4 separate regions of the Homo sapiens genome follow, and all the other regions are linked to region 4. Evidence: promoter capture Hi-C in 16 types of primary human blood cells and fetal thymus (Javierre and others, 2016). All regions are on one chromosome and are shown on one strand. The core of a region is centred on a gene start or on the middle of the fragment in contact, and the rest is flanking DNA. Distances in the headings are between cores, read along the strand shown.

Evidence for each region. The method cuts DNA at HindIII sites, captures the fragments that hold promoters and counts their contacts. A CHiCAGO score of 5 or more calls a contact.
Region 1: a contact is called between a fragment that was not itself captured here and the fragment with the promoter of FIP1L1 in region 4, in 1 of 17 cell types (neutrophils). The highest score is 6.3, in neutrophils.
Region 2: the fragment with the promoter of SRP72 here is called in contact with the fragment with the promoter of FIP1L1 in region 4 in 2 of 17 cell types (non-activated CD4 T cells and neutrophils); the score reaches 9.7 in non-activated CD4 T cells.
Region 3: a fragment that was not itself captured here is called in contact with the fragment with the promoter of FIP1L1 in region 4 in 1 of 17 cell types (naive CD8 T cells); the score reaches 5.7 in naive CD8 T cells.

Annotation. Positions count from the first base shown.
Region 1 is chr4:56,481,073-56,487,655 of GRCh38, forward strand. SRP72 (signal recognition particle 72) reads left to right here. Exons shown (of 19, transcript NM_006947.4): 9 at 2,067-2,198; 10 at 3,664-3,792; 11 at 5,253-5,325. Among named protein-coding and RNA genes, the nearest start is that of SRP72, 17 kb to the left of the region's middle. The HindIII fragment of the contact is 3,798 bases long and covers 2,171-5,968 here.
Region 2 is chr4:56,464,068-56,470,638 of GRCh38, forward strand. It overlaps SRP72 (signal recognition particle 72), which reads left to right and starts at 3,550. Exons shown (of 19, transcript NM_006947.4): 1 at 3,550-3,677; 2 at 5,586-5,706. The coding sequence starts at 3,569. It overlaps LOC124900706 (a long non-coding RNA gene), which reads right to left and starts at 3,491. Exons shown (of 2, transcript XR_007058126.1): 1 at 3,025-3,491. PAICS (phosphoribosylaminoimidazole carboxylase and phosphoribosylaminoimidazolesuccinocarboxamide synthase) reads left to right here. Exons shown (of 9, transcript NM_001079524.2): 9 at 1-511. RefSeq lists an enhancer at 3,395-3,604. The HindIII fragment of the contact is 5,513 bases long and covers 1-5,172 here.
Region 3 is chr4:56,391,075-56,397,601 of GRCh38, forward strand. It overlaps PPAT (phosphoribosyl pyrophosphate amidotransferase), which reads right to left. Exons shown (of 11, transcript NM_002703.5): 10 at 5,545-5,665; 11 at 2,288-4,474. The coding sequence ends at 4,278. Among named protein-coding and RNA genes, the nearest start is that of AASDH, 6.8 kb to the left of the region's middle. The HindIII fragment of the contact is 6,954 bases long and covers 1-5,490 here.
Region 4 is chr4:53,373,303-53,379,429 of GRCh38, forward strand. It overlaps FIP1L1 (factor interacting with PAPOLA and CPSF1), which reads left to right and starts at 4,339. Exons shown (of 18, transcript NM_030917.4): 1 at 4,339-4,621; 2 at 5,771-5,815; 3 at 5,923-5,962. The coding sequence starts at 4,537. LOC105377654 (a long non-coding RNA gene) reads right to left here and starts at 4,438. Exons shown (of 3, transcript XR_007058118.1): 1 at 4,357-4,438; 2 at 2,295-2,428; 3 at 867-1,295. RefSeq lists enhancers at 4,057-4,605, 4,407-4,496, 4,547-4,666, 4,606-5,154 and a silencer at 4,827-4,916. The HindIII fragment of the contact is 4,469 bases long and covers 1,204-5,672 here.

The sequences.
Region 1 (6,583 bases), core at 2,820-5,319, 3.1 Mb after region 4:
CAATTAATTGAAGTATTAAAATTGCGACATGAGAGAACCAGCTAGAAAATACGGTTTCTTTAGGATTGATTTATATGAAAGGCAGTTTCTTGCTGTACATTAAAGTAGTTTCAAATTGGTTTGGAGCTCGACAGTAAGAAAAAGTAGAATTTATTTTAGATTTTTTTCGCTTCCTTTTTGTCTTTAAACTGGTAGAAGACCTGGTTTAAAAAAGCACAGTGGTATCATGTATTTGCAAGTAAATACATTGTTTTACAAAGCTAGAGTATTGTGCACAAAGTAGATACTCACATGCTCAGTTTGTGCTTCTCAGGATGCAATCAGTGTGACTTAGTTTTCTCCCTTTTTTTGGAGATGTATGTGACTTTCAATAATTCTTAATAGGACTTTCTTTGGGCAGATAACACTGTGCCCCCACATGGGAATTTTAGAAATTGAGCTTCTTTATGCTTTTGCTTGGCTAAGAAGAAGGGGCTTTAGGAAAGGAAAAACAGTAGATATGTTACATGAGTATTTTCTGCTAAAAAAAAAATGGGTTCAAAAGTGGTACAGATATGTTTCTGAGGTTTCATGATTGCCTTACAGAGTCACTACAGGCATACCTCATTTTATTGTGCTTTACTTTATTACACTTTGTAAGTTTTTCACATATTGAAGGTTTGTGGCAACTCTGTGTTGAGCATATCTGTTGGCTCCTTTTTTTTTTTTTTTTTTTTTAAGATGGAGTCTCGCTCTCTTGCCCAGGCTGGAGTGCAGTGGTGGGATCTCAGCTCACTGCAACCTCCCAGGTTCAAGCAGTGCTCCTGCCTCAGCCTTCTGAGTAGCTGGGACTAGCGTGTGCCACCACACCCAGCTAATTTTTGTATTTTTAGTAGAGATGGGGGTTTCACCATGTTGGCCAGGCTGGTCCCGAACTCCTGGCCTCAGGTGATCCACCCACCTCTGCCTTCCAAAGTGCTGGGATTACAGGCGTGAGCCACTGTGCCTGGCCATGGTGGTATCATTTTTTTAACAGCATGTGTCCATTTCATATCTCTGTATCAGTATTTTTTAGCATTGAAGTATTTTTAAATAAAGGTATGTACTGGGCCGGGCACAGTGGCTCACGCCTGTAATCCCAGGACTTTGGGAGGCCTAGGTGGGCGAATCACGAGGTCAGAAGATCGAGACCATCCTGGCTAACACGGTGAAACCCCATCTCTACTAAAAATACAAAAAAAAAAAAATTAGCCAGGCATGGTGGCGGGCACCTGTAGTCCCAGCTACTCGGGAGACTGAGGCAGGAGAATGGCGTGAACCCGTGAGGCGGAGCTGGTAGTGAGCTGAGACTGTGCCACTGCTCTCCAGCCTGGGTGACAGAGCGAGACTCCATCTCAAAAAAAAAAAAGGTATGTACTTGTTTTCAGACATAATGCTGTTGCACACTTAATAGACAACAATATAGTGTAAACATAGCTTTTATATGCACTGGGAAACCAAAAAATCTGTGACTCCTTCTATTGTAATATTTGCTTTATTGCGGTAGTCTGGAACCAAACACGAAATATCTCCAAGATATTTCTGTATTTTGAAGAGGAGTGAGTTACTTTTTATTTATCATCTAAATTCTAGAGGGCATAGCTTGTAGAAATTGCCAAGTTAGGTATTTTTGTAGTCCTAATACACTTCAATTTGTGCTGTCCCTTTTTTTCCTTCAAAAAGCTCAAAACAAGCAATTAATAGTGGAAAAATAAAACAAATCTTGTTCTCCATTTCTTTAAAGCAGTTCACTTGTTAAGCCTTTTTATACCTAGGAAGCCTCCTTTGAGAAGGCTTTAAAAGGAGTGGGGGTAGATTCTGGGATAACTATATGTACATGAGTAGATTTGAATTGCAGAGATTCAAAAAGAGTAGATTTGAATTACTTCTGTGAATCAGGATAAATTTATATGCATCTTATTAGCTTAGGCACCCCAATCAGGTAGATAGATTCAAGCTCTCCTGCTGTATCTATATAAAGTTAATAGAAAAAGGAATAAGTTGAAATCTGAGATTCTGTTAATGATAGATAAACTTTTCTTTGTTAGGACCAAAATGTCTTTGACTCCAAGAAGAAAGTGAAATTAACCAATGCGGAAGGAGTAGAGTTTAAGCTTTCCAAGAAACAACTACAAGCTATAGAATTTAACAAAGCTTTACTTGCTATGTACACAAACCAGGTGGGTAATTACCTTTGGTGTCATGGCTAAACCTTTTGTAATATGGTATATGAGGAGTAATAGGGATATTAGTCTAATCTTTTTATAGTTTTTGTTTGTATTTTGTCTTCAACTCATAAATATATTTTTTTGCCTTCCTCAAAATATTATATATATTATTGGCTGGGCACAATGGCTCATGCCTGTAATCCTAGCACTTTGGGAGGTTGAAGTGGGCGGAATGCCTGAGTTCAAGAGTTCGAGACCAGCCTGAGCAACATGGTGAAACCCTGTCTCTACATGGTGGTGTATGCCTGTAGTCCCAGCTACTCTGGAGACTGAGGCACAAGAATTGTTTGCAGTGAGCTGAGATTGTGCCACTTCACTCCAGCCTGGGCAACAGAGAGAGACTGTCTCCAAAAAGAAAAAAAAAAAAGAAAGAATATTATGTGTCATAGATTTTATTTATTAAACAAGTAATTTGCCCAATTTCTTATAAGGGTGTAGGGTTGACACCTTTTAAGGGGAAGAAAACAGTATTCACACCTTTAAATGAGATAACTTTCTCATTACCTTATTTCTAATCTGAATTAAGATAAAATCATCAAAGATGCTAGCCATGATTATAGATTTAAGACCCATCTTTCATTTTTGCTGTGTATAATCACATCAAGTTATAAATGTTAAGGAAGTCAATTCTAACTCCAGTAAGCATTCTAATTCTAATTTTATACTGTTTTAGAGCAGAAGTTTTAGTGGGAGACAGAGAAGCAGTAATTTTTTTTTTTTTTTTTTTTTTTTTGAGATGGAGTCTCGCTCTGTCGCCCAGGCTGGAGTGCAGTGGTGCCATCTCGGCTCGCTGCAACCTCTGCCTCCTGGGTTCACGCTATTCTCCTGCCTCACCCTCCCGAGTAGCTGGGACTACAGGCGCCCAGCACCACGCCTGGCTAATTTACTTGTATTTTTAGTAGAGACGGGGTTTCACCATGTTAGCCAGGATGGTCTTGATCTCCTGACCTCGTGATCTGCCCACCTCAGCCTCTCAAAGTCCTGGGATTACAGGCATGAGCCACCACGCCCGGCCGAGAGACAGTAATGTTTTTATTATTTAGAACTGAGTCAAGTTATTCTTAATAATGTAGCAAAAAATACATATATGCATTTTGTTGTTTTTGAAGCAAATGCTTATATTTGATGTGTTTGATTTTTTTAAACAGTTCTAGAATTTAGGCATCCAAGTGAATGTTTAGAATTTCTCCTTTACTAAAGACTCTTAGAGCTCATAGATTAAATTCAATAAATGGAAACCATTTTCTTACAAGAAAAAATTGAGAATAGATACTGTAAACTGATTCTCTTACCCTAGGCAGTTCTTTGGTTAATATTTGTTTCAACTGATTTTCCCATGTTTCTTTTCTTTCTGGTCATTTAGTGTTTAATTTCATTAACCAGTTTATTTTTCTTGTGGGGGTTGGATATCTTCTAGGCTGAACAATGCCGCAAAATATCTGCCAGTTTACAGTCCCAAAGTCCCGAGCATCTCTTACCTGTGTTAATCCAAGCTGCCCAGCTCTGCCGTGAAAAGCAGCACACAAAAGCAATAGAGCTGCTTCAGGTAAAATAATTACTTGAATGAGGTGTCAGACATTTGCAGCTTTGTTTCATTTTCATTGTGTTGTAATAACCTACTAGCATGTAAATTTAATGGGAAAACTAATCAGAAATGTACCACTACACAAATTTCATTGTCATTTTAGTTAACTCTTGGGTTACAGAGCTTTATATAAATTTCTTTGTGTTATATAAATTTCTATAATGTAAATATTTGTTATAAATGCTGAAGAATGCTGTTTTGTTTGGAGATCTGTTTAACCTGAGTTAGGGGATCATTTAGGCATGTATAATTCCAGAACATACTTAACCTCTTTTGCAATAATCTGATCTCCAGTGAGTTCTACTCCAGAACCTCAATTATGGAGATACTGACTTTGTTTTTATCAACCCAAACCAGCTATTATATTGCATATTTAAATTTCTTGAATATAAACTACATTGGAAAGTTGGACAGGTACAATTAGGATCATCCTGACAGACAAAATTGCCTAACAGGGACACTCAGTGAAGAGACACCGCCCCTTCTCTCCCCACAGCAAAAAAAAAAAAAAAAAAAAATCTATTTAGTAATCTTTATTATAGTTGACCCTTTGTATTCTTGAGTTTTGCATCCAAGAATTCAACCAGCCATGGATTAAAAACATTTTGTGGGGGTCGCCAGGCGTAGTGGCTGACGTCTGTAATCCCAGCACTTTGGGAGGCCCAATCAGGCAGATCATCTGAGGTCAGGAGTTCAAGACCAGCCTGGCCAACATGTTGAAACCCCATCTCTACTAAAAATACAAAAAATTAGCCTGGCATGGTGGCGCATTCCTGTAATTCCAACTACGTGGGAGGCTGAGGCAGGAGAATCACTTGAACCTGGCAGGCGGAGTTGCAGTGAGCCGAGATCACGCCACTGCACTCCAGCCTGGGTGACAGAGCAAGACTCCGCCTCAGAAAAAAAAAGCACATTTTGAGGTTGGAAATGTATGACTGCCTCTGTACTGAACATATACAAACTTTAAAAATCATTACTCCCTAGATAATATAACAACTATACACATAGGATTTACATTGTATTAGGTATTATAAGTAACCTAGCAATGATTTAAAATGTATAGGAGCATGTATGTAGGTTATACGCAAATACTATACTTTTATATAAGGGACTTGAGCATCCTTGGGTTTTGGAATCGGGGGTGGTTCTGGAAGTAATACCCTGTGGCTGAGGGATGATGGATTTCTCTGTTAGTGACTTACAGAAAACTTGACTTCATTGCACTTACTTTTAGAGCATACCTTTAAGAAAAAAAGTGAGTGTTGAATAAAAATTTCCCCAAGTTAAGATTTTGACCTGCAGCCAGAAGTTTAATGTTTTAAAACTGGATTTAAAATCTTATGTAGCTAAGTAATTGTAATGTATACAATTAGTTGTGTAAATTAAATGTGATTTTTTTCCCCCAAACTAAAAAAATTTAGGAATTTTCAGATCAGCATCCAGAAAATGCAGCTGAAATTAAGCTGACCATGGCACAGTTGAAAATTTCTCAAGGTATTATGGTTTTCATCATGATTAAAATATTTTAATGAAAACATGTTTGGAATGATTAAGCAGTTGTGAACTATGTGATTTTAAGTTTTTTTGTGTAATAGTAAAGCATAATAATTACTGTTTCAAACATGCAGCTAGATTGTATGATCTCCAACAGATTTAGTAGTGAGGTAGTTGCCCCTTTTCGTGGATTATTCCTAAATTATTAGAATGATTCTTAATCTATGCCTTGAAAGTTCTGAAGCAAAGGATTCCTCTCTTCCAAAAGACCATACATACTACTCAAATTGCCTGAGTATGTCACATGCAGAAATGCTTATGTCCGTCACTTGGTAATATTTGTACGACTACTTTGCATCATAGTTTTCAGAATTTCTTAGCTTGGCCCTTCATCCTTACTTCATTTTACACTTTGCCACCTATGTCTTTGGGCTTGGGGAAAGGTAATAGAATTTAACGAGAACTGATGTGTTTGAATCTTAAAACTGCCAATGTTTTTGTCTGTGGTTTTCATCTAACTTTGAATATCTAGAGCCATGTTGCCCAGTTTGGTAGTCACTAGCCACATACAGCTATTTTAAGTTTAAATTAGTTAAATGAAATTTTAAATTCAGTTCTTTGATTATGCTAGCCACATCTTAGAAGCTTAGTAGCTATATGCAGCCATTGGCTACAATATTGGACAGCACAGATATAGGACATTTATATCATCACAAAAAGTTCTGTCGAACAGCTCTGGTATAGAATGTGGATTTTCAATGGTGGTGACAATTCTTCACAAAAATCTTAAATATTACAGTGGCTGAAATGAAAATTTTATGAGTTGAAGGAGGGGAGTTGGCAGTTAGGGAAAAAATGTTTAAAATGTCCTTAGTAGGGCAATAATGAAAATAAGGTTGAGACACACTGCTGATCTCCCTCTTATCCAATTCTCACATTTCTTTGCTTTCCTTGTCTCTTTTTCCTTCTCCTCAGCCCTGTCTTCTCTTCCTTGCCCTTTACTTGATCTTTCCTCCTATGTTTAGTTTATTTTTTCAAGGATTATTTATTATCTTGAAATTACTGACAATCTGTCATGGTTTTTTGTTTGTTTTTAAAGACTGGGAATTTTGAGTTATTGAGGTTTGCAGTGAATACAAAATCAGAATTTAACACCATAGGAAATTTTCCATTGCACTCATGTCTACAGTAACATATTTCAAGGCCTTTAGGGAAGGACCCCCACCTTCAAGTTACAGCCCAAAAAAGAAGAAATAGA
Region 2 (6,571 bases), core at 2,300-4,799, 3.1 Mb after region 4:
TGCCTCCCCTGATTCTCAAGCCCTCGGGTTTGGAACTACACTGGCTTTCCTGGGCCTTCAGCCTGCAGAAGGCAGACTGTGGGACTTCACCTCCATTTTGCAGAGCCAATTTCTCATAATCTGTACATATCCTATTGGTTCTGTATTTTTTAGAGAACAAATACAGCCTATTATGTATATATAAGACCCTGGGAATGCAAAGATGAACAAAATTAACCTTCTGCTCTCAATGAATCTTGGAAGTCTCCAGAGGCAGACAATTTCAAAACACCGTATATAGTCTTAATATGGAATTAACAATAGGGTATTGTGAATACACAAAAGTAGGAAGGACTCTGATCTCTAGAAAACAATTGTATACTGTGAATGAAAAAGACTAATTCTCCACAGTCTATACTCAATCTCTCTTACCTTTCCATAATTTTCTTCAGCAAACTTATTACCACCAAACATAGTACATGTTTATTTATTACCCATCTCTCCCAACTAGAAAATAAATGTATTACACTGGGCTGTCTTCTTTGTTGTCAGCTGTATCACAGCAACTGGTGTAATACACGGCACTGGCATATACAAGACAAACACTTGTCAGATGAATAAAAATGCAAATTCCAGGAGGTAGGGGGACACATAACTACATGGAAGTTAGAGGTGAATAGCATGCAAGGGGGCTAGGAAATAAGTATAGAGACCTATGTGAGTTGGGGAGGTGGCAAGCAGAGGCCAGATCACAAAAGCTCTTACTGCTCTTCTTTGGAGTTCGGATTTTATCGTGAGGGTAGGAAAGTGGCATCAGATACATGCTTTAAGAGATCAGTCTGGTTTTTTTCCCACCATGTGAAAACAGAAGATGCCATCTATGAATCAGAGTGGCCCCTCACCAGACAATCTTTCCATCCTTCACAATGTGAGATGTAAATTTGTTATTTAAAAAAAAAAAAACAAAACACCACTATGGTTTGGAAGATTCCTGTTTCAAAAATGGCAGGTTAAGCCCCATATTTATAGGCTGTTTGCCACAAAACTCCATTAAAATGACATAAGAAATAGAAACAAGTCCACAGCAGCAGAATTCTGAGCATTTCTAAAAGCTACAAAGTATATAGGATTAGAATGATATAGAAACGAAAATTGCCAATTCTTATATAAAGTCAATGTTCTAAAAAGTACTACTAGGACAGTGGCTCTTAACTTTTGGGAGGGGATGGTGGATATAAACACCTTTGGAGAATACAGTGGAATCTACATTTTCTCAGAATAACAAAATACAACAAAATTTTGGGTATACCCAATTTTCTCACACAACATTTTGGGTATACCATGTCATCTGGAGCCCCCACCCCCTGAAATCTAAACATAACTGGCTTGAAACCTGTGACAATTCTAGTCAGTAAAAGTCTAAAGCTCTTCTCATGATTTTTACTAATTCACAAGAATTACACCCTCCAGCACCTAGAGTTCAAGCCACCTTTCATGCTCTTTGCATTGTATATACTGGAAGGACCAGACAAAAATATGGCAGGGCACCATATGCCATATCAGGAGCTGGGCAGTTTCTGCCCTCAAGGAACTCAAGATTAGGCAAGGAATGTGAAACAAAAAATGCCAACTATGTGCCAGGCAGTATGCTAGATCCTAGGGATACTGCAGTGAGCAAGGTAAATATGGTTCCTTGGCCTCAGAACTATAGTCCATACAGAGTGAGATAACCCTTAATTATCAGTGCTCAGAAGTGGAGTCCTATAGGGAGTCTCCCAACCTTTTTGGCACCAGGGACCGGTTTCAGGGAAGACAATCTTTCCACAGGAGTTGGACAGCTGGTTTCAGTATGATTCAAGCTCATTACATTTCCCATTAGATTCTCTTAAGGAGTGAGCAACCTAGATCCTTCACATTCCCAGTTCACAATAGGGTTTGAGCTGTGAGAAGCTAATATCACAGCTGATCTGACAGGAGCTCAGGCGGTACTGCTCACTGGCCCACCGATCACCTACTGCTGTGCCGCCCGGTTCCTAACAGGCTGCAGACCAGTACAAGGGTTGGGGACCCCTGTTCTAAGAGGATGCAACCAGAAGGCTGCCCAGTCTGCAAGATCAAATGTTTCCTCAAAGTAACTTTCAACGTATAACCAGAAAGACTGAAAGACAAAAAGTAGTTAGCAAGGCCGGGCACGGTGGCTTACGCCTGTAATCCCTGTACTTTGGGAGGCTGAGAGAGGGCGGATCACTTGAGGTCAGGAGTTTGAGACCAGCTTGGCCAACACAGTGAAACCCCATCTCTACTAAAAATTCAAAAATTAACCGGGCGTGGTGGCTCATGCTACTTGGGAGGCTGAGGCAAAAGAATCGCTTTAACCCAGGAGGTGGAGATTGCAGTGAGGTTCATCCTGGGTCACAGAGCTAGACTACGTCTCAAAAAAAAAAAAAAAAAAAAAAAAAAAAAGCTAGGTTCCTGAGGGACACAGGAAGTAGTAGAAGTTGTAAAGGTCATGACGAGATATGAGTCTGAAGAGCAGGCCATTCAATGAAATACAACATTCACATCAAGTGAATCACTCACATCGTCTTGGTGTGGTGGCTCATGCCTGTAATCCCAGCACTTGGGGAGGCTGTGGTGGGAGGATTGCTTGAGCCCAGGAGTTCCAGACCAGCTTGGGCAACACGGCAAGATCCCCGTCTCAAAAAAAAAAAAAAATCACTCACATCAAGTGTACCCAACAGATATCCATTCCCTTCGTACATCTGAACACATCTTGATATTAACGGTCGCAAGCAAACCCTAATATTTTATATCTCTAGAACAAATATAGTATCCCCATTTCACAATCGGGAAAACAGACTCCCAGAAGCTAAGTAACTTGTTTATTGTCAGACATCTAGTGAGTCGCAGAGCCAGGGAACTGACCACGGGCATTTTCACCCCATTACCCTTCCAGCTTATTGCCGACTGCTCCCGAAGGGAGCGAAAAGGACAGGCAAAGGGTTTCACCAAACCCTTTGTAATGGGAGATTCTTGCCTTCTTACCTTTCCTCACGTTTGCTTCTCTGCCAGAATGTCTTCCCGCACTTTCCCCAGAACCCAAGTTCTCCTAATCATCTTTCAAGATCCCTTTCCCTCAACCACAGATGAGCCGTGCCTATTTCTCCTTCAAATGACTCCCTATGGCTTCTAGTTGGTAGTCTTTTATTTACCACCTCATAGTCCTTTTATTTATATCCCATAAATGATCGTCCGGCCCCGCACCGTGGGACCAGGACGCTGCCTCGACCATGGCGGTCTCCTGGAAACAGGCTGCTTTGAGCCGAAACTGGTGACCGTTTCCCAACCCCGTCCAGGAGTCCGACGCCTCTTTTCTCCAGGCCAACTTCAAGTGAGGTGTATCAACTCTATCCGCACAAATTTCTTGCCACGAGAGCAGAAGATTATGATCTCTGATGCTGCCTTAGGGCTGAAGACACTCCCAACTCGGCGACGCTTAGCAATCATCGACTTCCTCCTCCTCTTGGCTGCCTCGGAGATCCTGTTCCGGGGCAGAGGTCTCCCCGCCCCGCCCCTCGTCTCCTCCAAGATGGCGAGCGGCGGCAGCGGGGGGGTGTCAGTACCTGCGCTGTGGAGTGAAGTGAACCGGTATGGCCAGAACGGCGACTTCACGCGCGCTCTCAAGACCGTCAATAAGAGTAAGTGTCGGGGTGGGCACTGGGGCGGGCCCAGGCCGGCTGGAGGATGCGGCCTGTTTCCGGCGCGCGAGACCACCTCGCGCGGGAGGCACGGGAAGGGGAGACCCCCGAAACCCCCCCGTCTATTGTCCGCCCGGCTCGGGCCCTAGCGCCCGGAAGACGCAGGTCTCACTCCTCGGCTTCACCAGGCCAGCCTGGGGTCCCTGGTTGCTTACAGCCACGTGTACTTCTCTTTTTACCCTCCGCGGGAAGCGAGGGAAGGTTTTAAAGAGACCGCAGCTCCCGGAGTCCATTTCAAACTGTTTTCTTATTTGACTCCTTTGCTGCTTTATTTCACAAATATTCCAAAGTGCCTCCTTTTCTTCTTCGTCTTGAGCGCAGTGATCAGGACTCTATTGCTGAGGGAGCTTGTTCTCTTTGGCCGCTAAAGGGGGAGGAACCTGCTTGGGACACGTAGTTTAGAGGCTGGTGCTAACCAGGTGGAAGCTGTACGGGTTCTACGGGGCGAGAGGAAAGGGCTGGATCTGGATGTCAGGCCTGTCATTCCCATAGATGAGATCTCTTCAGTGTTATTAAGTTAGGAAATATGTGTGTGGAAGCACCAACACTTGAAATAATGTCGGAAGAAAAGTTTGGCCTGTTTTTTTGCCCTGTAAGGGATGATTTCGGTTTTTACCGCCTTTGGTGTGAGGTTTAATTCATCATATTCTTTTGTTCCTTACTACATACCTGGAATATGGCCATGCTGCTTAATGTTCTCGGTGGTGCGCAGTTCTTCTCTACTGAAGATACAGCCTGTGCATGTTAGATTTGGAAATGTAATTACCAAGGCAGGGCTTAGCTGTTCAGAGTAGCAGTAACCTAAAAGGTGTGTCAGTAACATGCAAAGCTATCTAAGTAATTTTCAACACTCTAGTACTGGGTTAACGTGAAAAGTAGTGATTGTGCCCACAGTGCACTTTTGGTGATTTCAGACATTGAGGAAAATAGCTACGAATTAGAATTATTTGATCCCTAAATTTGTTTGAATTAACTCTAGCCTTCCAACCAGTACTGTATACTTAGTATAGTATTTTGCAGGAATTCTTTAATCAGCAAAGATTGTCAACTTGTTTACCAGTATGTTTTCTTAATTGGTAGAAATTCTTGTGATTCTTTGAGAATTGGACTTCTGTAGTTGCACAGGAGCAAGAGTAACTATGATCCTGGTCATTTTAACACCGAACAGTTGTTAGCGTTGAAACTTGCCACCTGAGTTCTTCCTTATACTTTGGTCATCTTAGTTGAAAAGGGGAAATTTTAATGATTTTTGGAAACGTTGCCAGCAAGATAAATTGCCTTTGTATTATACTTTATAAGATTTTTCCAAAATATTCATTTCATATTGTCAGTAACCTTATTAAATAGGTAATGCTTTTCTAATCATTTTGTAGCTAAGAAAACTGAGATTTGGCTGTTAAGTGATATGCCCAATACCTCAAAGCATTTAGTGGCAAGCTTGCACCAAACCTAGGTCATTTGCTTCCAAATTCTACCTGAACTTTTTCCCTGTGAAGTAATGAACTATGTAGAATGTAGCATGCATTTCAAGATGAAATATCTGGAGAAATTGCTTCTTTCTTCTTTATTTCACTGCACTTTTTTGGTACATGTATATTGGGAATCTTTATCTCATTGAAAATTTAATCTATAACTCTCCTTATTGTCACTTCTTAAGTTAAAAGCAAAGATTAGTTGTTTTCTGGGTTTGTTTTGTTTTGTTGCTGTTTCTTCCAGTTGTTCTGACCAATTATTTCTGTTGCAATAAAAGTAGAAATTTAGCTTTCGGAGAGACAGGGTGGGAAAATTTAGTAAAAATGTGAAAAGGAAATGGATTTAAAAATGACTTTTCCTAAAATTGTTCTCTAGTACTACAGATCAACAAAGATGACGTAACTGCCCTGCATTGTAAAGTGGTATGCCTTATCCAGAATGGAAGTTTCAAGGAAGCTTTGAATGTCATCAATACTCACACCAAAGTGTTAGCCAAGTAAGTGATTCAGTTAGTTGCTTGTACAGTTATTAGAAACACTTACTATAGCTATAATCTCTTCCATGTTTTTTCCCAACTATTTGCTGATTTTTTTTAACGTTTTTTTCCTTCCTTTTTTTCCCCCCTTTTGCTTGTCAATAATGTTTCTGAACTGGAAGGAATACTAGTAACTTCTGTTTTTTTCAGCCTTAGAGAGTTTTTTTTTTTTTTTTTAACCACTGTGTTTCCTTTGAACCGCTAAGGAGGTGAACCATAGAGAGTTGTGGGGCATAATTATGAGTCGTTGGAGGATGTAGCAAGAATAACTCAGTCGAAGTTTCTTTACTGTTATACCTAGGCTCCAAAAAAATATGTATTGAAATTAAGTTTGAAGCATATTAATGGGATACTGGTTTATAAGGTGCAGAACAATATATATTATACTTCCTTTTACAAGAGGAGGAGGATATAAAAATTTATATATGCATTTGCCTGTATTTGCAAAACAAACAGTATAAAGAGAAACAATGAATAGTCATTTGTGGGAGGCCTAAGAGGGCGGATCACGAGGTCAGGGGTTTGAGACCAGACCGAGCAATATGGTGAAACCCCATGTCTACTGAAGATACAAAAAATTAGCTGGGTATGGTGGTGTGCACCTGTATTCCCAGTTACTTGGGAGGCTGAGGCAGGAGAATCACTTGAACCCAGGAGGCAGAGGCTGCAGTGAGCTGAGATCGTGCCATTGCACTCCAGCCTGGGTGACGGGGAGACTCCGTCTCAAAAAAAAAAAAAAGTCATTTGTAGGAGGTAATAGGAACAGGTTAGATTTGGGTAGCAGTGGGAATAAAGCCTCTTAGTGTATCTCTTTTTCTTTTTATAT
Region 3 (6,527 bases), core at 764-3,263, 3.0 Mb after region 4:
GAAGGCCAGGAGTGGTGGTGGCTCACACCTGTAATCCCAGCACTTTGGGAGGCCGAGGCAGGTGGATCACGAGGTCAAGAAATCAAGACCATCCTGGCCAATACAGTGAAACCGTCTCTTTGAAAAATATAAAAATTAATTTGGCATGGTGACACACGCCTGTAGTCCCAGCTACTCTGGAGGCTGAGGCAGGAGAATCACTTGAACCCAGGAGGTGGAGGTTGCAGTGAACCGAGATTGCGCCACTGCACTCCAGCCTGGTGACGAAGTGAGACTCCATCTCAAAAAATAAATAAATAAATAAAAATAAACCTCACTGTTTGTTTTAACAATAACAAGCGTGGTAAGGGTGGTGTCAGTCCATAAGTTAGATAGGCAGTTGCTAGGCAGATGTCGTTGCAGAAGTATGTGTGTGTGTGTGTGTGTTGTGTTTAAGGTTGTGGTGGCCTTTGTGCAGGTTGTAAATTTTTGTAGTCTTTTGATAGTTCTTGTTATCAACCATATGTACATGAGAACCCTTCCCCTTCATGGCGTTTCCTGGCTCCGTTTGCCAGGGTTTTAATACGAGTGACTCCATTTTGAATCTGACAACTTTCACATTTCCCCTTTTGATCAAGGTCTTTCTCAAAAGCATCACTGATCAATCATCCTGTATTTAGGTTTTGATATCTCTTGGTGCCAGTCTGCCCTCATGTTGAAGGGAGTCACTGGTAACTAGGAATTAGCATCAAAACCCTTTAGCCACATTTGAACAACAAAAGAGGTTTGGAGGGAGTGGATCTCAGGCTAAGTCTACCTGGAGTCCACTGTTAAGTTCAATTCTGTCTGTTCCATAGGCACTGTCTATCATCTCAAAGTGCTGGGAGAGCATTATTCTCTTAGGAGTTGCATTTCTATGCAAATTTGACAAGAAACAGGTATAAAGTTCTTAAAAAAAAAAAAAAGAAAATACAAAGTAACAATCTCAGCATAATAGTTTTCAGCCGTGAACCTAGGCTTAAAGACAACCAGTTGAATAAATCAAATGATCATGAAGAATTAGGTGAGACTTATTATACCATGTGGGCTATTTTCTTATTTTGTGTATATAAATTCCCCAAAGGAATGTATCCAGGTACAGCATGTAGTATGAGCAAAAGCACAGACATCTCTTTGTTTAGCTGGTACACAGCAATCCTATTACTTAGCATTCCATGACTGGCTTGAATTAAAGCAGAGAGAGCTAACTCTGTTTTAAAAAAGACCATTAGTACAATTTGAACAAAAAGTTTACTGAGGATGTTGCCAGTATTACCCCCTGGGTGGACTAAAGGATTTATGAAGTCAGATTCTGTCAAGTCACCCACAATATCTACCGATTGTGAAATTATCCTGCCAAATCAAAGAGGTAGGCATAAACAAGGAAGAATTAAGAGGGGCAAGAGTGTCATTAGGATGGGGAGTTATGTTCCATCATCTTGGGAAAAGCTGCCCACAGTATGGAGATGTTAGCTTTTCATTCTGGTTTACAGTTTTAATGTCTCTGGTTATAGCATTGGGCAGTTTTGTGAACCTTTGGGCATGAGATTTCTCCCTTAAAATTCAGTTAAGTTTGAGCTTGGGCTTTAAGAACATAGCAAGTCTCGTTTTTAGTAATTCTATGGAAGAAAGTTGGATTGGAGGAACCTAGAAGAATTAAAGATCCAGTCCAGCGACCAAGGTTTACCTAGTTGCACAGAAATTTTCTTAACACTGGCAGGTGCCCTACTAGTAATCTTTCTTGTCTGTGACCAGTTTATCCTTAACATGGGAGACTTTTTCTTTGGATACCTTCAATATTTTCAGAGTGGTATTTTCAGAGTGGTGCCTTTCACTTAGTTAATATGCATTTATGTTCCTTCTGTCATTTAATGGCTTGATTGCTCATTTCTTTTAAGCACTGAATAATATTCTATTGTCTGAATGTACTACAGTTTATCTATTCATTTACCTACCCACCCTGACACTTTGAATCTAATCCTGCTCTTCCATGACACTCCCTCTTTCCCCATAGTGCTTCCTAGGAACTTGCCACGATGTAGTGCTTACTTAGTACTGCTTTTCTAATTACTTAATTTGTCCCTCATAGTCAACCAGCAGTTTTGCCTGGTTCATAAGAGATGGCCTATTTATTGAAATGCCTGGATCAGAGAAATAAGATATGACTAGCTGGTGCCAAGAATGGAGCCTGGAAGTTGTCTCCATGCTGTTTACCATAAAGCACTAACTAAAGTCACTATTTAAAAAAAAAAAAAAAAGGACACACATATTTAAACATACTTATTACACATATTTATCAACAAGGCATCACAAATAAGTCACAAAAAGTAGGCTTAGTTTAGTTCACAATATAAATCCCGTGAAAACACATTTTTCATCTCTGCAGTTTATAATACTCTACGTATATGAATTTAAAGCAGTTAAACAACATTTGAGATTAAATTGGTAAAAAAAAATTGTAATTGAATTCAGACTTCAGAAAATTGTGAAGTAAAAGGCCATGATGGAGAAATATTAAGAATCTGTAGAATTACTAAACTGTCACAGTATTATTTTCCTTTACAAAAGCATCTCAGTAAAACAAAAACTACAGAAAACGCAAAGTAAAATCAGAGATTTTGGTTTAGTACTTTCCCTGAGTCTCTTGTTTTAAAAATCAAAGTAAGGCCAGTTCAAAATTGACCCACAGGTCTTGCCTCCTCCATGCTGCCATGGGGAGTACATTTAAGACAAGAGGCTACGCATGTTGAGGTGGTCCCAGGGCTTTATTCAAATGCCAATTTGCCCGTGTCACTGCCACAGGGTTATCTGACCCACTGCTGCATGTGGGCTTAAAGAGCTGTCAAAATTTTATCTTGGCCTGCTATAATATAATATGCGAGACTATATACCAAAGGAAGACAAACAGTTTCAGTTATTAATAAATATTAAATTTCTAAATGGATCTGGACACTATATACATCAAATTATGGTAACATAACAGAAACAAACACTTTTATGTTTAAAAATTCTTACATAAACAAAGGTTTGGGGTCAAGTCATCTTAAACTTCTAATCTCAGATGTTACAAGAAAAAACTTCAAAAAAGAAATCAAATTCATTAGATCTTAATATAGTAGAAAAAAGTGATTATAAGATGATACTTGGACTTGGATTGTAAGTTGATACTAATTCCCCAAAGTGGTTGTCTCTTTGATCCTTAAACAAAACTGGCCCCTATTGTGTCTGTACTTGATCACTTAATTGCAATAATATTTATGTGTATGTGTACATGTATATGTACATCTACATGTATATATGTTTGCAAGTGATCAAGCACTTCATTAAAAAAAGCATATGATAATTAATTAAATTAAGGATAAAGGGATTGTTTGAATCTAAAAATTTGGTTTTTATTTCAAATGTACCAGGTTACTTGCTGAGCTTATAGTATCAGGGCACTAAATACTATGGATCACATTTTCTAGTCAAATGTAGGAAAAACTTTTTCACAGATTTTTACAACCCTTTTTAGGACATCTCAAAGAGAGATGGCAAAGATCTGCCAATTATGTCTCCTTCCATCATAATGAAATCTTAATTAATTGTAAACTAATTTCAAAAAGTTAACAATCATTAGCTTTCTGAAAGCTAACAATCATGAGTTGTCTTAAAATCAGAAGTGAAATGATGGCTCAAATCACAAAAGTATGACACTTATTCACATTCTTATTAATTATTTAATAAGTATCCCATTGCACATGTGGGGAAACTGAGGCACCAGATTATTATTATTTTTTTTTAAAGATTTGTCTACAGTTAGACAGGGAAGCCAAGGTCATAACTACAGCCAGAACTGTAGAGGCTAGACACCTATGAGGTATAATGTATTCTATTCAAACTTTGTGTGAAATGGTATATTTAACTCACCTGTCTTGTTGGCATCACCTCTCCTTAACCCTAACTTCTTGCAAACCCTTTAAAGCATGGACTTGGGAAATGTCAGTGACCACCTGCCTTCTCTGACCAGGTTAAAAAGGCTAGCCAATGCTTGTGTAAAAAAAAGAACACCACATATTGTTGTATTATATGCAATTGGAAATGTTCAGTTATCGCACTTTGGTATCCTTTTCAGAAAAAAAAAAAATCTCAAAACTTATAAACATAAGCATGGCATTTTACATTGTACCAACTGAGTAACAGTAAATAGATGAGGTGTGACCACTATAACTTCTTGACCAACTTTCTATCTTGAAACTACACACATCCAACCCTACCAGCTACCATTCTAATTCTACAGGATATTTTCCAGTGAGACAAGCTGTACAATGACCACTCTTTTCAAAACATTCCAGACCATTTCCATTTTCTTGGATCATAATATCGTGCTTTTTCTCTTTCTGTTTTTTAAACTTTATCCCTTCTTGTACAGATGAAACCAGTCCTTCTACTGACAGATACACAACACTGTTTGCTCCTAAAGAAAGAGGGAAAAATAAAAATGTAATAAGAATTCCTTTAGAAAGGAAGAAACGCGTCAACAGAGAATAGTTACAAACAGAATAATTTAAGCTAGGATAAATTTCTCCTTTAGCCTTTCTTTAAAAAAAAAAAAAAGGAAAAAAAATCAATAAAACTCAGTTCCTTTATTTTTAAAAATTTTAATTGGAATCTAGGGGATAACATAATTTAAAACAGCAGAGGAGGCTTCAAGTCTAGAATGGAATTAGAGGGCTTTGGGAGTAATTTTCTTAATTGAAAAAATGGAATTTAAAGTCAGGAAGATCTAGGCTCAAAGTTAAGCTCAAGTTCACTCAGTTTTCCTAAGTCTATTTTTTCATCTATATAAGATGGTGGAAACATTGCCTAAATGTAGAGTTTTTATGATAATATAGATAATATAGGCAGCATAGTTTCTGGCAAAGTGTGAGTGCTTATAACATGTATGACACCCATCAGGGTGATATTTAAAAATATTTAACCAGTGAGGCATATGCATGACAGGTTAAAAGAAACACCAGCCACAAACAGATGGTGTGGAGGTACCAAGGCACAATGACTAAATATCATGTGTTATTTCCACAGTTTATACATCACCTGATTTTGAAAGGAAGATGTCTTACCCAGGATAACTTAGATCTCGAAGTCTCCTTATCTCATTATTGAATATGAACCTACACAAACTTTTTACCTTGTGATTTGTATCCACATCCAAATTACTCTGTTAGAATCTGATTAAATTATTTTTGTTTTTCTTGGGATCTGACTTTTGGGAGGCTTTAAGTGATTATGATTGCACTTCCCTCCACCTGGAAACCACCTCTTCCTTCTCTGATCTCACCTTGGCTTAGCTCTCCAACACAAGACTCTGTGGTGTCTGCCCATGCCCACTACTCTCACTGTTGAGAATAGTATTCAATATCTGTTTAACATATATAACTACTTTTAACAAACACTGAATACTCCTTTTTACTAAAGGTGTAAAGACTGTCAAGCTTTGGATTTTCTCTGTTAATAATCAAAGTTTATAGAAATTTTAATACTTACCTAGATATTCTGCAAGGTGATCAAATTCTGGTTTATTGGCAATGAGCTCTTCTTTTGTAGGAATGTTTATTCCCATGAAGCATGGATATTTAATTGGTGGTGAAGCTACTCGAATGTGTACCTTGGAAAGAAATCATTGCACACAAGGTTTTTAAGACTATGCAAAATTCTTTCATTGTGCAAATACAATACAAAATTGTTTTGCAGAATATTCAGTAACAACATATGGGTAATAAATTATTCTTTCTACAAAGCTGCTTCTTGGTTTTTTTTTTCTTTCACCTAATCATGAGGAAGTTTCTTTGTCTAGATATCCTACTTCTCATTTGATGTCTTTACATTCCTAGAGCCACTTTTCTCTTGTAATACCAGGTACTTCTGCTTATCCCTTATCTTACCATTTTAAAAAGAAAAATACAATTTACCAGGTTATAACAAAAACCTTACTACTACAACAGAGTTGTTTTTGTCTGTTATTGTTTTTTTTGCCTTTCATCAGGTACGTTTACATGGCTATACTCAGTGTCCACATTTCCTTTTTAAACTTTATTAGAATAGATTTTCCCATTTTTGCTACGCAGTCTTCTTAGTATTTAATGGCTGCATCATATTTCATCACACTGATATATCAATTTACTAAATTATATTCACCAACAGGGAGATATGCCATTTCCAGGTTCTTTGACTTTATTCTTTTTCACTATTGCAATAAATGATGAAATTATGTTAAACTCTTGTATCTATTACATAATTTCCACAGAATTCCAGAGTAAGATGATCATAATCCTAAACACAGGTATAAAAAAGGCTGGAAAATCATAATCCCAATTATCTTGGAAACTTTCTAAATAAACTGGCATGCTGCTTTTCATCCCACTTTCTTCTACAGTGAGATTTTATTTTTGATTTTTCAGAGATGGGGTATATGTTGCCCAGGCTGAGACTTTATTTTTAAATTTACATAACTATTAGTTGTAAATGGC
Region 4 (6,127 bases), core at 3,089-5,588:
CAGACATGAATAGGAAATAATACAATTTTCCAGAAACAACTAGCAATAGAAAATTTATTTTTTCTTTTTTGATGAGCTAAACTTAGGACTAGGTAAAGTTTATTGTTAAAAGATGTCAGGATGTAGAGGAAGATGGCTAATTGGGGTTTAATTTATCATGGAAGTACATAAAGAGGAAGGAAAGCTCTACACACGTACAATTACTTTGCTTGTTCAAAGAAGAAAAGTCCTAAACAACATGTTACCTGCTTGTCAATAACTTGTCAAATGCTTTGACTTTTTTTTTTTTTTGAGACGGAGTCTTGCTCTGTCGCCCAGGCTGGAGTGCAATGATGGGATCTTGGCTCACTGCAACCTCCTCCTCCTGGGTTCAAGCGATTCTTCTGCCTCAGCCTCCTGAGTAGTTGGAATCACAGGTGCGTGCCACAATGCCCAGCTAATTTTTGTGTTTTTAGTAGAAACAATGTTTCACTATGTTGAGCAGGCTGGTCTTGAACTCCTGACCTCAGGTGATCCGCCTGCCTCGGCCTCCCAAAGTGCTGGGATTACAGGCGTGAGCCACCGTGCCTGGCTAGATGCTTTGACATTTGAAACCTCAATTTAGCTTTGTTATTCTTCCCCAATATTGGTACAAATGTCATTTTAATGTATCAATTTACTGCTGAGGAAACTTAAGAACATTGAGAATTTAAGAACATTGAAATTTATGTGACAGCAAAGAGCACAGTTGGGCATAAACATCATATGCATGCCAAACACATTTATGTGTACTTGCTATATATACTGGATAGTGAGCAAGGCATTTTTATTTGATCTCCAATTCTTGTCATCATTTAACTCATCATCATCTACTAAACACTCTCAGTACTTCTCAGAGATAAGTATATTAAAACTTATCTTTTAATTTTTTTTGCCAGAAACCAACAGACCACAAAACAACAATAAAATGGAAAACAAATAGAATATATGGAGCACTGTAGTTTGATAAGGTCATAATATAAGAAATGGAAGGAGGAATATATAATATCTTCAAACTACCTACCTTTGATGTCTCCCCTGGTGAGCAGGGAGAGAAAGATACCTTTAACTAAGAAAGCATATTCAGGCAAGAAACTCAGCTTAGAAGCAAGGAGGAAGAGGTCTTTTCAGAGTAGTTATTAGTGATTTATGTGCTTCTTTGCTTGTGGAAATCTTCATTTTCAAAGCTTAGCTCAAATGCTACCTCCACCACAAAAGCTATTCTAGTATTGTTCATCATTTCTTCAGTTATGTTTAAGCAATGCCTTGAAAGGCAGCTGAAAACAGAAAAAGATCCCTTAACAAAAGGCAATTGGTTTTCTCATGAAACCAATTAAATAAATAGAACGATCAATAGACAGGACTGTGAGTGATTGCCTTACGATACTCATAAACAGTCTATAAGACTTCATTCTATTACTTTCAACAGTGACCAAGAAGATTTACTCAGCGTTAAGCACTATACTAGGAATTGAAGTGATGGCTATGGGATGCCCTGTTTGGAGGTGGACTTGGTCTAGCGAAGAGCCTGAGGCAAACAGAAATATAGTCAAATAATTACTATACAGTGTGATAGGCACATGGCATAGAAGCAGCATGGTGTCTAGAAGGAGTGAGTTGCTCTGTCCCACTCACCCCCCAAATACATCTGACCTCATCTGCATTCTCTCTCACTCACTATACTTTAGCTACATTTTGAGTTTCTTGAACATGCCAAGTATGCTTCTACCTCAGGGCCTTTGCACTTCTTATTCCTCTGTTTGATAGTCTGTCACCCCGAAATCCACGGGGCTCACCTCCTGTCTCCATTCAAGTCTCTTGTATCACTTCATCAGAGTAGCTTTCCCTGACCACTCCATATAAAATTGCACCCCATCACTTCATTTTATATTGCTTACTCTTTTCACAATTCTTGTCATCATGACATATCATACGTTCATATGTTTATTATCTGACTCTCTTATTAGAATCAAAGCTCCACAAAAGAAAGAACTTTGTTTTATTCACTGTTGAATCTACATAGCTGGAAGAGTTCCTGGCAAAACAAATGGGAAGAGATAAAATGGGATTCAGGAAAGATTTCACAAAGGTGATTATACCCCCAGAGAGTTTAGAAGGATGCAAGAGATTATCATAAAAAGATAAGGGAGCTGGGAATAGCTGGCAGAAGTGTGTTCAAAGGTAAGAAAGATTAAAACCACATGGTTTGTTTAAATAATGTGAGATATTGGTTGGGCGTAAACCCTTCATTTGTGCTTCTATTACAACACATTCACCTCTTCTCTTGTAGGAGAGTTGTTTACTGCCCCTCTGTCTTTCTCAATAACTTCAGAGTTCTTTAAGGGGTGGGACTGTTTCACTCATGTCTTCATTTTCCAAGTTCTTAAACAGAGCAGATATTCTGTAATTGCTAAATAAATAAATGATAAAACAATATTTATTCATCAAGGAGCAAGAAAACTCATTTAGTTGTTCAATCAAAATGGATTTCTCTCTGTTGACAAGCGAATGCCCTGTTTGTAAACTTTATAAATGAAAGAGACCTCAGAGATCATCTAACTTGGCCTTTCCATTTTATAGATGAGAAAACTGAAGCATAGAAAGGTTGATTGCCTGACTATACAACCTGCTAGGTATAATGAAGAACTGAGGCCAGGCCTGGTGGCTCATACATGTAATCCCAGCACTTTAGGAGGCCTAGGTGGAAGGATTGCTAGAGACCACGAGTTCCAGACCAGCCTAGGCAACATGGTGAGACATTGTCTCTACAAAAAATAAAAAATTAGCCAGGTGTGGTGGCACCTGCTTGTCTGTAGTCCCAGGTACTCAGGAGGCTGAAGTGGGAGGACTGTTTGAGTCTGGGAGGTAGAGACTGCAGTGAACAGTGACCCTGCCACTGCATTTCAGCCTGGGTTACAGAGTAAGACTGTTTTTTAAACAAAACAAAACAAAACAAAACAAAACAAAACAAAACAAAAAAACAGGCCGGGCGTGGTGGCTCATGCCTGTAAGCCCAGCACTTTGGGACACCAAGGTGGGCAGATCACCTGAGGTCAGGAGTTCAAAACCAGCCTGGCCAAAATGGTGAAACCCCCTCTCTACTATAAATACAAAAATTGGCTGGGCATGGTGGTGCGTGCCTGTAATCCCAGCTACTTGGGAGGCTGAGGCAGAAGAATCGCTTGAGCCCAGGAGGTGGAGGTTGCAGTGAGCAGAGATCGCACCACTGTACTCCAGCTGGGCAACAGAGTGAGACTCCGCCTCAAATAAATAAACAAACAAACAAAAAACCTAGACAAACCTAGAGCTCCAGTTTGAACCATGGTATGTCATCTTTTCACTGGAAGATGTGCTTTCAGAAGCGGCCTGAACATTTGGTTTACCTATTAAAATAAAAACTGTACATACTTTATGATCTATCTTTGAGAAACAGACAAATCTGCAAGGAGCCGTGTGGATCTTCATTGTCATTTTTTGTTGTAGTTAAAAGTGTAAAGTCAAAAGCAATCTGGGTGTACATCAATGGAGAAATAGCCATATTCACTCTGTGATAGCCATACTATGCAATTTTATGAAGCACTTAAAATAGATATAGTTTGATTCATACTAAAATGAAAAAGAGCTCCAAGACACGGATGCTAAAAAAAAAGAAAAAAAAGGAAGTCGAAGGATGATACTATACTGTACTGTACTATTTAAGACTTGTCAATCTCAGGTTCTCCCACCAAAACAGCACAACACATGAAGTAAGTGTATAGGAAATTTCGGAATGATGAACTCCAAACAGGATATGCATCTGTAGCAAGGGCTACCTCCGGAGAGAAGGGTAGGGGAATGAGGCGGTCTTTGACCTTGACAGTAATTTATGGTTTTTAACAAGGAGAGTGCATTCTTCATCTATTAGTTTTGCTTTTGTTGGCTGTGAAAATTAATTTTTTGAGAAATAGTACTGATTGTGATTTCTTCTCTATTCAGTGAGGAAAGGGAGTGACAGGTAATGATTCTGTATCAAGGCTGATTAAAGAATAAAAGAAGGCCTTTCTGAAGATTAAAAAACAAATAAAAAGTTGAGAAGAAAGAGCACGAAGAGTAGAAGGGAACAATGGTGTACTCGCCAGCAATGGCAATACGGGTTATTAAAAAGAAGGGTGGGGGCGGGGAACCCTGGCCGACTCAGGACGCCACGGGAGGAAGCCACGCAAAATAGCAAACCGGGATCCTAGAGGGGCGGGGCCCACCTCAGCGCGCAGGCGCAACCAGGCCCAGGTGGCCGCCGCGGAAGCGAAGCCACCTATACGCGCCGCGCCGCTTGGGTCTCCTGCGCATGCGCAGACGGACCTGCGCTGGAGGCTTCATCTTTGCCGCCGCTGCCGTCGCCTTCCTGGGATTGGAGTCTCGAGCTTTCTTCGTTCGTTCGTCGGCGGGTTCGCGCCCTTCTCGCGCCTCGGGGCTGCGAGGCTGGGGAAGGGGTTGGAGGGGGCTGTTGATCGCCGCGTTTAAGTTGCGCTCGGGGCGGCCATGTCGGCCGGCGAGGTCGAGCGCCTAGTGTCGGAGCTGAGCGGCGGGACCGGAGGGGATGAGGAGGAAGAGTGGCTCTATGGCGGTACGAAACTTCCTGTCTCTGTCTCTCGGGTTCTCTCAGGCCTCCCCTCTTGGCCCTCAAACGGCCGGCGTCCCTGGCCTCTCGCGCCGCCGCTTCGGGCCTCTGGTTGGGAGTCCTGTCCGGCCTGACTTAGGCCGAGCGCGGCGTGCGCGTGCCCCCAGTCCCCGCGGCGGTCTCCCGCCTGGCCCACGCCCACCATGCGCATCCACCCCTGTGGCGGCCGGGCCGGGCTGGGGGGCTGTGACCGGTCCTGGCCCCCGGCTTCGCTGTGCTTTCCCCGAGGCGTCTCGATCGCCTAGCTGCTGCGCTCTTTACCCTTGTTTTTTTCTGTCGATTCTGAGGTGGTGGTTTTTGGTGTCTGTTTTTGCCCTGTGGCCTTAGGGTGCCCTTCCTGTCCCTTCTTTCAGAAACAGTCATTCTGTAATAATAGCTAAATAAAGTTAATGCTGTACAACTAACGTCTTGTTTCTTGATGGTCAGTTTGTATGGAATGCACCTGCAAGGGTACCTCCTTGTCTGAAAGTCGTGCTTTAAAAATAATTAATTAAGAGAGAGAGAGAGAAAGATGGCCCATAAAGAAAACTCTGAATGTCTCCTGTATTAAGGTGAAGTTATTCTTTTTTAAGAGACTACCGTTTAACCTACATCATGGAGGTATCTCATGACCCTTCGGCTTATAGTTTTCAGTGTCATCTCATGTATTTGTTTTTCTCAAAATAAATTTAATGCATCATGTACTTCTCTCTAGAAGGGTACTTGTTTGACATCTGGTTTTTAACTTTAAGTCACAATCCCTTCTTGCTTGTTAACACCAGATTTGAAAGTTAATGTTTGTTCCTTGCCTAAAACATATATTCTTGATTGTCTTTAGAATAGAATAGTAAAAGTGCACTTTGGGCACCATGCAGGTCCTTGATGATGTGACTTTGATAAACTTGTAAAAAAAAATCGTTTGGTGGCAAGATTTAGCATTAGTTACTACTCTTTGAAATGTGAATGTGTAGGATTTCTTTTACAAAGATCTGGAAATCTTCATTACCTCTTAAATTTAAGCTTATTTTTATAGCAGTAAAGTCTGATTTTTTTTTCCATAAAATAAGTATCTTGTTAAGTAATTATAAGGTGATCTAACTTTGGATGTGCTTATAGGCCCATGGGACGTGCATGTGCACAGTGATTTGGCAAAGGACCTAGGTTAGTGCTTGTGATGATCACTTCAGATTTTCATAATACTAGTTTCTTTAAGAGTGGTTTCTTTATTTTGTTTGCTTATTTATTTATTTGTTTATTTTACTTGGTAGATGAAAATGAAGTTGAAAGGCCAGAAGAAGAAAATGCCAGGTTAGTGAAATTTTCTGTTGATGCCTATTACACAGGTTGTGTGAAACAATGGTTCTGTCAGTTGTCAAAATTATTTTCTTACAATCATTGGCTTCATTACAACACTGACTTACAACATTTTGGAGGACATTGAATCCTTTAAGGATTATTCCAGTTTCAGGACCT